4 separate regions of the Homo sapiens genome follow, and all the other regions are linked to region 1. Evidence: promoter capture Hi-C in 16 types of primary human blood cells and fetal thymus (Javierre and others, 2016). All regions are on one chromosome and are shown on one strand. Each heading gives the region's core, a stretch centred on a gene start or on the middle of the fragment in contact. The rest is flanking DNA. Distances are from core to core; before and after follow the strand shown. Region 1 holds the start of DNAJC1 (DnaJ heat shock protein family (Hsp40) member C1). Region 2 holds the start of MSRB2 (methionine sulfoxide reductase B2). Region 3 overlaps LOC107984215 (a long non-coding RNA gene). Region 4 overlaps ARMC3 (armadillo repeat containing 3).

What was found. The method cuts DNA at HindIII sites, captures the fragments that hold promoters and counts their contacts. A CHiCAGO score of 5 or more calls a contact.
Region 2: the fragment with the promoter of MSRB2 here is called in contact with the fragment with the promoter of DNAJC1 in region 1 in 8 of 17 cell types (activated CD4 T cells, non-activated CD4 T cells, naive CD4 T cells and 5 more); the score reaches 9.5 in activated CD4 T cells.
Region 3: a fragment that was not itself captured here is called in contact with the fragment with the promoter of DNAJC1 in region 1 in 3 of 17 cell types (naive CD4 T cells, M2 macrophages and total CD4 T cells); the score reaches 6.0 in naive CD4 T cells.
Region 4: a contact is called between a fragment that was not itself captured here and the fragment with the promoter of DNAJC1 in region 1, in 10 of 17 cell types (total CD8 T cells, naive CD4 T cells, total B cells and 7 more). The highest score is 8.6, in total CD8 T cells.

The regions. Positions count from the first base shown.
Region 1 is chr10:22,002,212-22,005,680 of GRCh38, forward strand. It overlaps DNAJC1 (DnaJ heat shock protein family (Hsp40) member C1), which reads right to left and starts at 1,519. Exons shown (of 12, transcript NM_022365.4): 1 at 1,002-1,519. The coding sequence starts at 1,223. RefSeq lists a silencer at 1,153-1,522 and enhancers at 1,183-1,683, 1,563-1,612, 1,643-1,772. The HindIII fragment of the contact is 6,929 bases long and covers 1-3,469 here.
Region 2 is chr10:23,093,831-23,097,299 of GRCh38, forward strand. MSRB2 (methionine sulfoxide reductase B2) reads left to right here and starts at 1,749. Exons shown (of 5, transcript NM_012228.4): 1 at 1,749-1,896. The coding sequence starts at 1,779. LOC107984215 (a long non-coding RNA gene) reads right to left here and starts at 1,449. Exons shown (of 3, transcript XR_001747394.2): 1 at 990-1,449. RefSeq lists a silencer at 1,557-2,026. The HindIII fragment of the contact is 9,169 bases long and covers 1-3,469 here.
Region 3 is chr10:23,043,818-23,047,286 of GRCh38, forward strand. All of the region lies in intron 2 of LOC107984215 (a long non-coding RNA gene), which reads right to left. Among named protein-coding and RNA genes, the nearest start is that of MSRB2, 50 kb to the right of the region's middle. The HindIII fragment of the contact is 2,050 bases long and covers 789-2,838 here.
Region 4 is chr10:23,005,507-23,008,975 of GRCh38, forward strand. It overlaps ARMC3 (armadillo repeat containing 3), which reads left to right. Exons shown (of 19, transcript NM_173081.5): 14 at 1,378-1,475; 15 at 2,770-2,868; 16 at 3,309-3,425. The region is part of intron 2 of LOC107984215 (a long non-coding RNA gene); the gene reads right to left. Among named protein-coding and RNA genes, the nearest start is that of ARMC3, 79 kb to the left of the region's middle. The HindIII fragment of the contact is 679 bases long and covers 1,211-1,889 here.

The DNA.
Region 1 (3,469 bases), core at 269-2,768:
ATCGTAAACATTAATTTTTTACTCCCATAACTATTCAAAGCATTGTACGAAGGGCTCAATCAGATCGTGTGAAGTGTACATTTTTCACCCCATAAGCCTGAAATCAGCGAAATGTTATCTTCTCCTTCGCACAAGGCTTCAGGTAGAGACTGGATATCTACCCTCACTCAACCACCCTCAATGGTAGAACTAAAAAGCAACAAATGGATTTTACAAGTTAATGTCTTAAGCTATAGAAGAAAACGAAATGAAACAAAAGGAAAAGGGGAAAAAAAAACCCATTCCTACATTACTGACCGGGGGCTTCTCTTCCAATCGCATCCCAAGTCCTTTGCTGCTCAAAAAACTTAACACCTCCAACCTGGTTAGACGCTTCAAATTCCTCCAGATTTCTAAACTGCGAAAGCGAAACAAACATCTACCTAACAGGCTAAAAAGATGACGAAGTACAAAGTAAGAAAAACTTTTGCAACACAGACACTGGCCACAGTGCATTCCTACTTTCCCAGAAGGGAAGAGGAGGGGAGGCAGCTGAAATAAGAATAAGGATGAGGTAAGTATCGGTGGAAGATGACAGTTTAGGGTGAGAAGCGGCTGCTCTTTCTCACATTCAGGGGGACAGGAAGGCAAAAGGTAGGTGTTAAATTAAAAAAAAAAAAAAGTCTACCCACACCACTCTTCGTTCTTCCTCCAGCACAGCTGGAGGGGGAAGGCTCTTCCCCAGAACGCCGGAGCAGAGAGAAGGCATCGCCACCCTAGGCTAGTGGCGCCGTCCAGCCTGTCACTGGGGCTGGGACTAGAAAAGTTGAAGCAGGAGTAAAGATCTGGGGAAGACGGACACGTCCTTCCAAGGCTGAGGACCCCGGTGACCCGAGCTGAGGGCAGCCAGAGCCCGGGGTGACCAAGCCCTGCCCTACGTGTCCGGCTGTCTCTGAGGAACCGGGTCGCCTGACGCCTGCCCTGGCCCCTCTCCGCCCGGCCCCGCGCGCCTCCTTGCTTACCTGCTGCACCCCGAGGAACTGGTAGAAGTTGAGCTGCACCTCCTCCACTAAGTCAAACAACTCCAGGTCTCCGCTCTCCCAGCCGCGCGCCGGCGCCACGGCGGCCAGCAGCAGCAGCAGCAGCCACAGCAGCGGCGTCCGCGGCGGCGGCGGCGGGAACGGCACCAGCCCGAGCTGGCGGCGTCCAGGAAGCTGCGCCGGCTGGGAGCAAGGAGCCGTCATCGCGCTGGGCTCGGAAAGGTCACCCGCCGCGCAGCTCCGTTGGCCGAGAGCTGGGACGTGGCGGGCGGCGCTGGCTGTGGGGAACAGCGCCTGTCAGTGAAAAGCGCGGGCAGGCGCACCGGAGCGGCCCGCCAGGTGGCTGGCCCCAGACAGAGCGCGGAGGCGGCGGGAGCCGGCTGCCGGACGGGCGGGTGGGTAGGCGGGCGGGGCCGCAGCCAGCGCTACGTTCCGAAGACCCTCGCCCCCAGGCCTACACACAGCTGTAGAGGCAGCGCCCGGCGCCTGGGCTGCACAGTGGGTGAGGCTTCCCTTCGCCTCAGCCTATCCCAGGCCTCGCTTCCGGTGACATCATGTCTCCTAGCAACCGCGGGAAGGGGGCGTGGCCGGAAGCCTGGACGCCTGGCGCCCCAGATCTGGGCCTGGGTGAAATGCCTCTCAATCACTGGCGCGCACGGAGCAGCTGTACCTGCGCCCACATGGGCTGAGAGACAGGGACGGTTATAGCCATCTCGCGTCCATCTGGAACGCCCCACGTGGACTTCCCCTGAAATAGCTACTGTCTTCCTCTCCCCTAGCTATCGAACACTAAAAGCATATTTGAAGCCTGATTAATTGATTATGGCTTCCATGCATTTAATTAGTCCATCAGCAAAGAAGACAGGACAAGTTGAACCAGGTTCTAAAAGGGGCAAATCTAGTAAGTAGAGAGAGGTAGAGCAGAAAAGGAATTGAAACCAAAACAAAAAGTATACTTCTAATTATGAATTAAGATTTACAGGCATAATACCATAAAATGACCTGGTAGAATTAACAGTTAATAATGGTGACTCAATCATAGTTGGAGGAGAAATGTAGTTTATCCACCTTAGCCCACCTCCAGTTGGGGTTCCTTTGAAAACAGACCTCAATTGAGATGTTTCTGTTTTAAAAGACAGGCTAAAAACCTCCTCTCCCATAACAATGTCTCACCTTCTAGTCTTGCATTGCTTCTGTTCAAGCTCTTTTCAAGTTATTTTCTCCACCACAATTCTCTTGTGTGGACTTTATTATTGTGTGCTTAGCACAATGCATAGCACATGAGAGCACTCAATTAGTTGAACTGAATCCTGTGACTACCTCCCTACCACCATTCCCCCTACCACAGATTTTTAGTTTATTTATTTATTTATTTAGAGACGGAGTTTTGCTCTTGTTGCACAGGCTGGAGTGCAATGACACCATCTCGGCTCACTGCAACCTCTGCCTCCCACGTTCAAGCAATTCTCCTGGCTCAGCCTCCCGAGTAGCTAGGATTACAGACTCCTGCCACCATGCCTGGCTAATTTTTTGTATTTTTAGTAGAGACGGGGTTTCACCGTGTAGGCCAGATTGGTCTCAAACTCCTGACCTCACATGATGTGATCTACCCACCTCAGCCTCCCAAACTGCTGGGATTACAGGCATGAGCCACCACCCCCAGCCTAGTTTATTTTTGGTTATATCAGTTTTCTTAAAGTGAACGTCATCTTTACCAAGTCCCTAAATTAGGTTACTGTTTATTCAATGAACAAAACATCGAAATAAGATGAAATTAATGATCTTAAGCACTACTTTTACATATTATAGTAACATTCATCTTTTCTCCTAATTTGATCATTAGATTAAGTGCAATAAAACCTTTGAAACTGGTGCCATATTGCCACAAATCTGGGATTCTTACCCCGATCTTGTAGCAGACAGCCTAGTATTTCCCTTTTGAGTTTTACCTTTATGTTGTCTGAGAACCTCGGGGACTTACTCCATCTAAAGATAGCCCATCCTCTTTCTAAGGCCATGCTGAAACAGAATTGGATTCTATTAATAATACTTCTCATGGACATAAGGTATTACTCAAAAATTCATGCTGCCCAGCTCCAATGACACTTGTCCACCCTGAGATGATCTTCTTGCTTGTCCAGGTTCCTGCAAAGACCACAGTGATATTCATATTTAGACTTCTAGCTTGGCCTCTTTACCTATTCAGTCATTGTCCCAAAAATTACAGTGCAATTGAATAAATCTTTTGCTGAGGTCTGAACTAAGGGAGTGACAGTATCCACTGTTTTCTTCCCTGGTGACATGTACTAATTCTGGGCATAGACTCATCCAGCTTGGCCTGGGCAGAGGGAGTTTACACAGAAAAAGAGAAACCAGTGAGATGTTTAACCATCATGTGAGCTGTGAAATGGATTGGAAATATAGAGGAGCCCCAAACATATAGCCAGTTT
Region 2 (3,469 bases), core at 499-2,998, 1.1 Mb after region 1:
GGCCTGGTGGCTCACGCCTGTAATCCCAGCACTTTGGGAGGCCGAGGCAGGCAGATTACCTGAGATCAGGAGTTCAAGACCAGACTGGCCAACATGGTGAAACCCCGTCTCTACTAAAAATACAAAAATTAGCCAGACGTGGTGGCACACGCCTGTAATCCCAGCTACTCAGGAGGCTGAGGCAGAAGAATTGCTTGAGCCTGGAAGATGGAAGTTGCAGTGAGCCAAGATCGTGCCACTGCACTCCAGCCTGGCCGACAGAGACTCTGTCTCAATCAATCAATCAATCAATCAATAAAAATGGTGCTGGAACAACTGGATATAGATATGCAAAAAACAAAACAGATAAACAAAACAAAACAAAAATTTTGGCCATATATAAAAATTCTAAATCGGTCAGAGACCTAAATGTAAAACCTAGAACTATAAAAATTTTAGAACAAAACATAGGAGAGAATCTTTGTGATCTTGGATTAGGCAAAGATTTCTTAAATATGATACCAAAAAAAGAACAATCCATTAACAAATTGATAAATTGGGCTTCATCAAAATTAAAAACTGCTCTTCCCAAGACAATATTAGGAGACAGAAAAGACAAACAAGAGACTGGGAAAAAAAATCTTTGTAAAGCATATGTTTGATAAAAGATTTGCATCCAAAATATATAAAGTGTTCTAAGCTCAATAATGAAACAACTCAACATTAAATGGGCAAAAGATCTGAACGGACACTTCACCAAGGAAAATACACTCGCTGCAAATACGCACATGAAAAGATGCTTAACATCATTAACGATTAGAGAATGCATAATAAAGCCACAATGAGCTACCACTACACAGAACCGGAACATCTACAGTTAAAATCTCTGGACTTTCAAGTGTTGGCAAGGATGAAGAACAACTGGAACTCGCATAGACTGCTAGTGGGAAGGTAAAGAAAAAAACCACTTGGGAAAACAGTATAGTAGTTTCTTAAATGGTTACACCTACCTTACGACCTGGGCATTCCACTTCCAGGTATTTACCCCAGAGAGGAAAAACCGTATATGTCTGTACAAAGATTTGCACAGGGATGTTCCTAGCAGCTGTAGTTCTAATCAGGAAAAATTGAAAGCAGGCTAAATCAAGTGCTGACTAAACACACGGTGGTATATCCATAAATGGAATACTGCTCAGGAAGCAATGAATGATTGTTCCATGCAAAAACACGCAGGCATGTCAAAGTAACTATGTTGAGTGAAAGAAGCCAGACAAAATCAAGTACATATGGGATGATTCCATTTATGGACGACTCTAGAAAATGCAAACTAAAACAGATCAGTGTTTGGGCTGCGGATGAGTGGAGTTGGGATAGGTGGAGGGGGGCAGGGCGAGGGAGGAGCAGGAGTGGGAGGAGCTGGGAGATGCAGAGATGGGTTGGGGAGGGTCTCATGGAAGGGAAGGGAGAGAGGAAGGGGGAGAGGAAGGGGGAGGAAAGGCAAGGGGAAAAGGAGAGGAAGAGGGAGGGGGAGAGAGAGGCAGAGTGGGAGGAAAGAGGGGCGGGGACCTGGGAGGGCCCAGGGCACATAGTGGGAGGAGCAGGTGGGAAGGAGGGAAGGAGGGAGGGGCAGGGGAGGGAGAAGAGGGGGAGGGAGACGAGGGGACTGGCGGTGTGGGCGGAGCGTGGGGAGGGAGGCCGACTAGCGCAGGCGGACGGGAGAGAATGGGGGAGGGGTGGGATGGGAGCAGGGGCAGAGACGGGCAGAGGGCAGAGGGCGGAGCGGCGCCGGAGCGGGCGTCATGGCGCGGCTCCTCTGGTTGCTCCGGGGCCTGACCCTCGGAACTGCGCCTCGGCGGGCGGTGCGGGGCCAAGCGGGCGGCGGCGGGCCCGGCACCGGGCCGGGACTGGGGGAGGCAGGTAGGACGCGGGTCCCGCAGGCCCCGCCGCCGCCTACGGCTTTCGGCTTCATTTCACCGGCTGCACCCGGGAGCCTAGGGCCGGTCCAGGCCGGGCGCTGCCCTCCTACTAAGCCCTCCTCGGCGCGCCCCTCCCCCCCCCCAGCCCGAGGATCTGGGACAGTGGATTGTAAACTTGGTGGCGGCAGGGTGGGGACTGACCCCTGTGAGAATCCGAGGAAATGAACAAATGATCCCCCTAAATGTGCGCATAATTTTTTTTTTCTTGGCTCGGGGAGTGGGGGCATAAGTGGGGCTCGGGGGCCTCTGACCCCTATCGGGGACTCCAGGCGAAGGCCCGGGGCCTGGGCTGTAGCAGCCCGGCCCGCGCGCCCCTGCGAAGGCCCCTAGTATTTTGCATTGCAGCCCTCTTCGTAGTTCCGCGGGCTTCCTTCCAGCATCTGAGAAGCAGGCAGTTCAGACTTGGGGTTCCTGTGAGTGTTTCCTGCCCTGCTGACTTCCCATAAATGTGTCTAAGAGCCAGGGAGACTGGGTTGATCATTTGTTCCTTCTTTAAGGTGACAGCCATTGTTAATGACTGAGACAGAGACCAGGGCGAGCCTGTGTGTGTGTGTCTCTCTCTCTCTCTGTGTGTGTGTGTGTGTGTGTTTCTGCTAAATACTTTTGGATCCTCTCTTGGATCTGGGTACCTGCACATTTCACCAAGCAGGAAGGAGTCACCTCGGGAGACCTGTGCCAGCTACCCCTGTATTTCAGTTCTATTTCAGGGTAACTTAGTGCCCCAGGGGATTGGCTTCCTGGGCGGTTGCCAGACTGACCCACTCTGAATCCAATTTTATATGTGTTCATTGAAGACATTCAGAGATACCCAACTGATGAAAATGTACCAACTCATTCTGAGCTCTTTTTAGCCCCTGAAGTTTTCGAAATGCAATATTGAAAGAATACGTAACTAAATAAAAGCGTTGGCGTTGTGGAATGTTAGCTCATCCAACTTGACTTCCAGCTATGGCCTTTCTAATCACTGGTGTCTCTAGTCAGTCTGATGACATTTGCTGTGAGCCTACTGTGTGCCAAGCATTGTATTGCTGAGAACCACAGGTGATAGAAACAGGTCACAGTTACCGACGAGCTCTCTATAACCCCTTGAAAAAGGATGGTGGTTTTAGCGGTAACTACTTCATGGCTGTAATTGCTGCTGTCAGAAGCAGCCTAATGAATTGCCCTGGGATCTGAAGTTCTCCAGCAACAATAAAATTTGGCCAGCCACCAGTAGGTAACAGGAGCTGTGTACCTTATCAGACACCCCTCCTGGGAATCTATTCGAAGGAAATAGTTCAAAAGAAGAACAAAGAGATATATGCAAAGATGCTTTAAGCACTAGTCTCTTACAAAATGGAAACTGGCTGTAACCCAAATCAGTTAAGAAATACTTACGTAAATCATGAAAATTCAATCCAACAAACTGTTAGGCAGCCATTAAAAATGATAAACGGAGTATTTCTGTGGTGAAGGGCTTGGGTATGAATAGATGCAGATTTTGAGTCTTGGCTCTCGGTTACTTCCTGGCTCTG
Region 3 (3,469 bases), core at 564-3,063, 1.0 Mb after region 1:
TATGTATATTATTTATAATTACATTAAAAAGGTCACAATAGATGGGCCTCATAAGTCATCAAGGCCAACTTTCTTTTCTGGCAACCCCAAAGGAATATTTGTAAAGAAGTATGGTGGTTATCAGCTATATCATACTACATTGCCCTACTAATCTTTTGTCTACAGGTTCAAGTCCAAATTCAGATCAAGCCTCACTTTCCTCCCTAAGCTTCCCCTGATGCCTTATGCTCTACTGGTGACCTTCTCTCATAGCATCTTTGGCACTCATTTTGCATTTTTTCATATGCTTACTGCCTGGGGTTGCTGTTTTCTTAATGCACATGTATGTGATATCATGGTTAGAAGCATGCAGATCCTTGGAGTCAGAGAGGCTCGGGTTGGAGTGTCCTACTTAAACCATTCTTAGCTGTGGGATCTTTAGCAAATGTCTTGGTTTCTACATCTCTAAAATGGGGATGTAATAATAGTAACCACTTCATAAGGTTGCTCTCAGAAGTAAATAAGTCCATGTACAGTACTGAACATAACGTCAAAAATAAAATCAGATCCAGTTAGAATGTTAAGAGTTTATCCTGCACACAAAAGAATAGTTCACAAACTGGGAGACCTCAATGTCTCAATTTTACAGCAGTAACAGTGCAGTTCATAGAGCACAAAGGAGGAAGGATTTTGGTCTTTTTCATAATTGGCTGTCATATAGTCTTTATTAAGGCAAACCAAACTGTTTAAGCTGATTTATTGATAGGTTATTGGTTTAATTTCACTGAATCAGTCTGATAAAGACAAAAAGCTTACATTTGTGTTATGTTTACCTTTATGGTGAAAGGTTTGGGAAAATCAGGATGACTTAAGTTTTGTTTACACAGCTACGGGCAGCTGGGCTTTGGGTATACCTAAACTGTGGCCTCCATTTTTATTTTGCTTTAACAATTGTAAGCATTTGACAACTATTAGCTATTATGCTTTGATCTCTCCTGAAGAGATGGAAAGGAATTCTATGTTGGGCATACACCTTACTCTCAAGAGCTCCTTGCAAACGGATAACTTGAATAATATTTGTTGACTATCTGAATGCCTTAAACTAACTGATCTTAAAGACTAAAATGGAATTGGAATTCATTTTTATTTTCTTTTGGATATTTTTGAAAGTAGTTGGGTGGTAAAGAAAATCACTCCCATTTCTGATTAGGTACTGATTTCCTTTGGCCTTTCAGTGTAACAAATATGATGACCACACGGTTACTTTTTTTTTTTTTTTTTGAGACAGGATCTCACCCTGTTGCCCAGACTGGAATGCACTGGCGCCGTCTTGGCCCACTGCTACCTCCAACTCCCAGGCTCAAGCAATTCTCCTGCCTCAGCCTCCCGAGTAGCTGGAATTACAGGCGTACACCACCACCACCCAGCTAATTTTTGTATTCTTAGTAGAGACGGGGTTTCACCATATTGCCAGGCTGGTCTTGAACTCCTGACCGCAAGTGATCCACCCGCCTCAGCCTCCCAAAGTGCTGGGATTACAGGCGTGTGTCACAGTGCCCAGCATCACACCTTTACTTTTGAATTTGTAGAATAGAATGTCAAAATGCAGAAATTCTGTCTTTGGAGCTAATGTCTGAAATCACTCCCCATCACCAACACCTTTGCTACCTGTGTGTGAGTGTTTCATTAAGAGAGGATACAGCATTACTTCCTATGGTTATATGACTCAGTATTGCTGCTTGGCGGACAGAGCTTGCCTGTGACTTTGAATGCCTCCCCTTGCATACTGGCATACTTATTACCTTTTCTTGTTTCGTTTTTGAGACAGAATCTCGCTCTGTCACCCAGCATGGAGTGCAGTGGCACAATCCTGGCTCACTGCAACCTCTGCCTCCCGGGCTCAAGTGATCCTCCTGCCTCAGCCTTCCAAGTAGCTGGGACTACAGGCATCCACCACCATGCTGGGCTAATTTTTGTATATTTAGTAGAGACGGGGTTTCGCCATGTTGGCCAGGCTGGTCTCGAACTCCTGACCTCAGGTGATCCACTCGCCTTAGCCTCCCAAAGTGCTGGGATTACAGGTGTGAGCCATCCCACCTCGCCTTATCACCTTTTAAAGTATGGTTGTTTGTGTAGTTAAGATGACTTGGGCTCTTGTTAACCTGCTAACAATGTATAAGGCTCCATATAGGGTAAGATCTTTCTTTCCACCAGAACTTGGAAAGGAGCAGGCTCCCATTTTGACAAGTCCCCAGTGAGCAGCATCTGCTTTAGGTATATTTCAGTCACAAACGTCTGGGTCTGACCTCAGAGTGATGAGCTAAGAGTCATTAATTTCCTTTTCCAGCTCAAAGGTATCAGCCCCCAAATGCTGCAGACAGTCAGGCTCTGAATCTTGAGAAAGTCCCAGTTTGTTTTACACAAGAACAGCTGGCATACAAATGGAATCAAGCACTTTTAAGTAGTCGTTAATAATACTGATGAGAACAGCTGAAGCAAACAGCGGCCTCTGTAAGTACTCAGATATCTGACATACAAATCGAGTGATAGTCCAATTAGTTTATTTATAGGTTCCTTTCTTTGAAAAATATGAGTTTGTGTCTAGCTGTCCTTTTGATTCTACAGTCTTTACTTTTAGAAAAACTTTGAAAAGCCTAGATGAATGCATTTATATCTGTATTATCAAGTCATTTATCTGCTAACTCATTGATAGTCATTATCTGCATACACAATTTTCTAGCTCTGTGATTTCATTTATTTAGCTTTCCAGAAAATTGTTTTATTAAAAGTCTCATTTTATTAATACAAATAAGAGAGAGCGATAAATACGCTAGTTGCATAGACTCTTACAGGATAGAAAGCTTAGCTTATTTTTCTTGTATGCAATTATTTGCTCCTTTGAGGATTAGAATGAAAAGAAAAATTAACTGTTGAATGAGGAGATTTTCTTTATGCAGTTATTATTTTCCTTAACTAAATAAGATAATAATAGAATAAATAATAAAAAGAGAGCAATGAATCGCCAGCAACAGACTTCAGAGTCCCACTCAGAAGTAACAATATGAAACCTATACTAGCCGGCTTTAAAGAGCATCACAAAACTTAACAACAGTAAAACTCTCACCATGCCTGAGAGCCATGATTACTAGCTATGTAAACATTACTGCTGAGTTAAAAACACTTACAGGATAATTAAAATGCCCCTTTTCAAACATGTTTCTTACAAAATAAATGTCCTGAGACTCAAGTTTACTGTGTCTGATGCTGCTAAACCATTACATTCAGAGAATGTACTCACTAATATGAAATCCCCAGAAAGGAAATCAAGAAATGAGAAAAGTCTTGGTAAATCTCTTAATATCAACCATCTGATTTCTTTTAGCCTTAGCTTTAGTCTCACCATCAAGTTTTTGGCATAGTTGTAAACTGCTAAGTTTCCACTCTTCAAAGGCCCCAAAATGCAGGCGGGGTGAGAGCAGGGGAATGGCTT
Region 4 (3,469 bases), core at 300-2,799, 1.0 Mb after region 1:
GTGCTGGAGGACAGAGAATAAACACCAAACATGATACTGAAATAAATGATATCCCAGGGTAAAAATGAGAGGCACTGGCTTGGTGCGGTGGCACACGCCTGTAATCCCAGCACTTTGGGAGGCCGAGGCGGGTGGATCACCTGAGGTTAGGAGTTGGAGACCAGCTGACCAACATGGCGAAACCCTGTCTCTACTAAAAATACAAGAATTAGCTGGGCATGGTGGCACGCACCTGTAATCCCAACTACTCGAGAGGCTGAGGCAGGAGAATCACTTGAACCTGGGAGGCAGAGGTTGTAGTGAGCCGAGATGGCACCATTGTACTCCAGCCTGGGCAACAGAGCTAGACTCCATCTCAAAAAAGGGGGAAAAAAAAAAGAAATGAGAGGTGCCATGGAGGGAGAAGAGAGCTGGGCAGAGGGAGGGTGAGGGGCTCTGAAATGCTGGGGAGCCCTGAGGTGGGCGGTTGCAATTTTAGAAGTTGCAGTCAGGTGGGTATCACTGAGAGGGTGATCATTTCCAAGCCAAAACTTGCAGCAGGTGAGGACCTTAGTCCCGGGCAAATCTGGGGCTGGGGGAAGTCCTGGGCAAATCTGGGGTTGTTTTCTAGGCAGAAGAATCAAGCAGTGCAAGAGCCGTGTGGTGAATATATGTTTGGCATGTGCTAGGCACAGCAGGAAGGCCGGTGCAGCTAGAGCTGGGCTAGCAAAGTGCGAGGAGAGCAGACCCTAGACCAGAGAGCTAACGAAGGCCAGGTTAAAGGCCTTTACTCTGAATGGAACAGGAACCGTGGCAGTGTCCTGGGCAGAAGAATGACAGGATTGGTCTTATTTTAAAAGGCTCTCTTTTGCCTTCTTCCCAAAGGACCATGAAATGTATCTTGGATGAGAAAGGGATTCAACTATAACTTAATTGGAAAAAGATCTCAAAAGTGATCTAGTCTAGCCCTCTTCCTCCAGGCTTGTGAAACTGCCTGCACAGGGCTTTGTCTAGCCTACTTTTAGATACACTCACAACACTTTTAGTCATCTGTTCCAGTATTCAGTTACTTTTGCAGGCAGTCAGCTCTCCCTTAGGTATATAGATGGATTTGCCAATCCAAATACTTCCAGGGGCCAAGATGATAATGATGGGATGAAACAGCCGAGTGTAAAGCAATCGAGATGATAAGGAACTGGATCTGTCCTGCCCAAAGGCAAGAACATCCACAAGCTTCAGGTTCCTATTTCTAATTTTATATATGTATATTGTACATGTGTGTGTTTGTGTGTGTGAAATGAGACACCGCAAACAGCTGAGAATATATTCTATCTGTATTCATTTTCGAAAATATGACCCCTGCAGATACTACTTTTTGGTCCTTAAATTATCTCACAGATAAATCCCGGCACCAAACTGTTGCCTTTGAAGGAGCTCTGCTTACAAGAACCAAGTGACCTACGGGCTGTACTCTTAATCAACAGTAAATCTTACGTGTGAGTCTCTGCAGGGAGAGGGGATGAAGGGAAGCACATACTGCTTGTTGTTGTTGTTTCTCCACCAACGTGTGAATATGCAAAGATTCCCAGACCCTTTTCTCCTGTATCTAGCACCTCCATGAAAATAAACACTGGCTCATAAACTCATAGCCCGACATGGAATAACCATGAAATAGCCACCACTGCAAATCAATGCACTCTCTGCTCTCTTTCTTTGACTCTATACTGCCAGTCAATTTCAAGTGTATTCTGAAGTCAAGGCCTCTTACCATGGAGTCATTGAAGAAAGTGTAAATAGCAGCAAACCGAGATGAATCATGTTTACAATTCTCCAGGACTATGTGCTGGAGTACAGTTACCACCCAACATTTTTCTTTGAAATAAGAAGTAAATGATAGAGCTAAAAATTAAAGCTTCCATGGTCTTCTTTAAAATGACCATGGCCGGGCACGGTGGCTGACACCTGTAATCCCAACACTTTGGGAGCCGAGGCGGGCAGATCACGAGGTCAAGAGATCGAGGCCAACATGGTGAAACCCTGTCTCTACTAAAAAATACAAAAATTAGTTGGGTGTGGTGGCGCACGCCTGTAATCCCAGCTACTCAGGAGGCTGAGGCAGGAGAATCACTTGAACCCGGGAGGCGGATGTTGCAGTGAGCTGAGATTGCACTGCCACTGCACTCTAGCCTGGCAACAGAGCAAGACTCCGTCTCAAAAAAAAAAAAAAAAAAAGAGAGAGAGCGAGAGATCGTGTATATCTATATATCCATATAGTAGTTATGTGATACATTTTATACAAATAATTTCTGTTCTAGCTTATGAAAGGCTTTATAATAGTCTTCTTGCAGTGGCTCATGCCTATAATCCCAACCCTTTGTGAGGTTGATGCAGGAGGATCCTTTGAGCTCAGGAGTTTGAGAGCAGCTTGGGCAACACGGTGAAACCCCATCTATACAAAAAATACAAAAATTAGCTGGGTATGGTAGCACATGCCTGTAGTCCCAGCTACTTGGGGGACTGAGGTGGGAGGATCGCTTGAGCCCCGGAGGTCAAGGCTGCAGTGAGCCATCATCGCACCACTGCACTCCAGCCTGGGCGATAGAGTGAGATCCTGTCTCAAAAAACAAACAAAGAAAAAATGACTTCTCCTTTATACTTTAAAAACAGTATGTCACTGTTAAAAGTCAGCTTCAGTTATGACTTTCAGAAAAAAATCTGTTTCGTGGAATAAAACCATCTGTTGACAAATAATTTTAATCTATATATAATTTTAAATGTGTAAAATTTTAGTTCTCCACCTTCATCTATGGAAGATAAATCAGATGTTGGTTATGGACGAAGTATTTCTTCTTCATCTTCCTTAAGAAGATCAAGTAAAGAAAAGAACAAGTAAGAAAATGATGTTTTATCTGTATGCAAACAGCTTCCCCTTTAATTTGAGTGTGAAAAAATGTTTTAGATTTTAGATTGGGGCAACTTGATTTTTATTCTTCTTATGGTAATACAATTGCATAATTGCCTTTTACATTGCTATGGGAAAGATCTCTGGAATAGGAGCCAGGAAATCTGGTTTCACCTTCTATTTCGCCCTGTGGACCTGCAGTGATTTGGGCCACATGACTTAGTGTCTGTGTGGGTTTCGTTTCCTTAGCTGTGGACGAAATAACACCGGGTCCCTGGCTTCATCATGGGGAAAGGAATCAAGTTATATAATGAAGTAAAAATTGTATAATGAAGTAAAAATGCCTTGTAAGCTCTAAATGCAAATGTAATGTATTGTTGTTTTCCATATGATTGAAATTGGTTGTGGTTTTTTTTCAAATGACAAGAAAAAATAGTTATCATTTTAGTGCTGGATTTGGATCTCCCATAGAAGACAAATCAGAGCCAGCTTCTGGACGAAATACTGTTCTCAGCAAAAGCGCCACCAAAGAAAAAGGATGGAGGTAAGAAAGTGTCCTGAGTTCCTCATTACCCAGCCAGGCTGGTG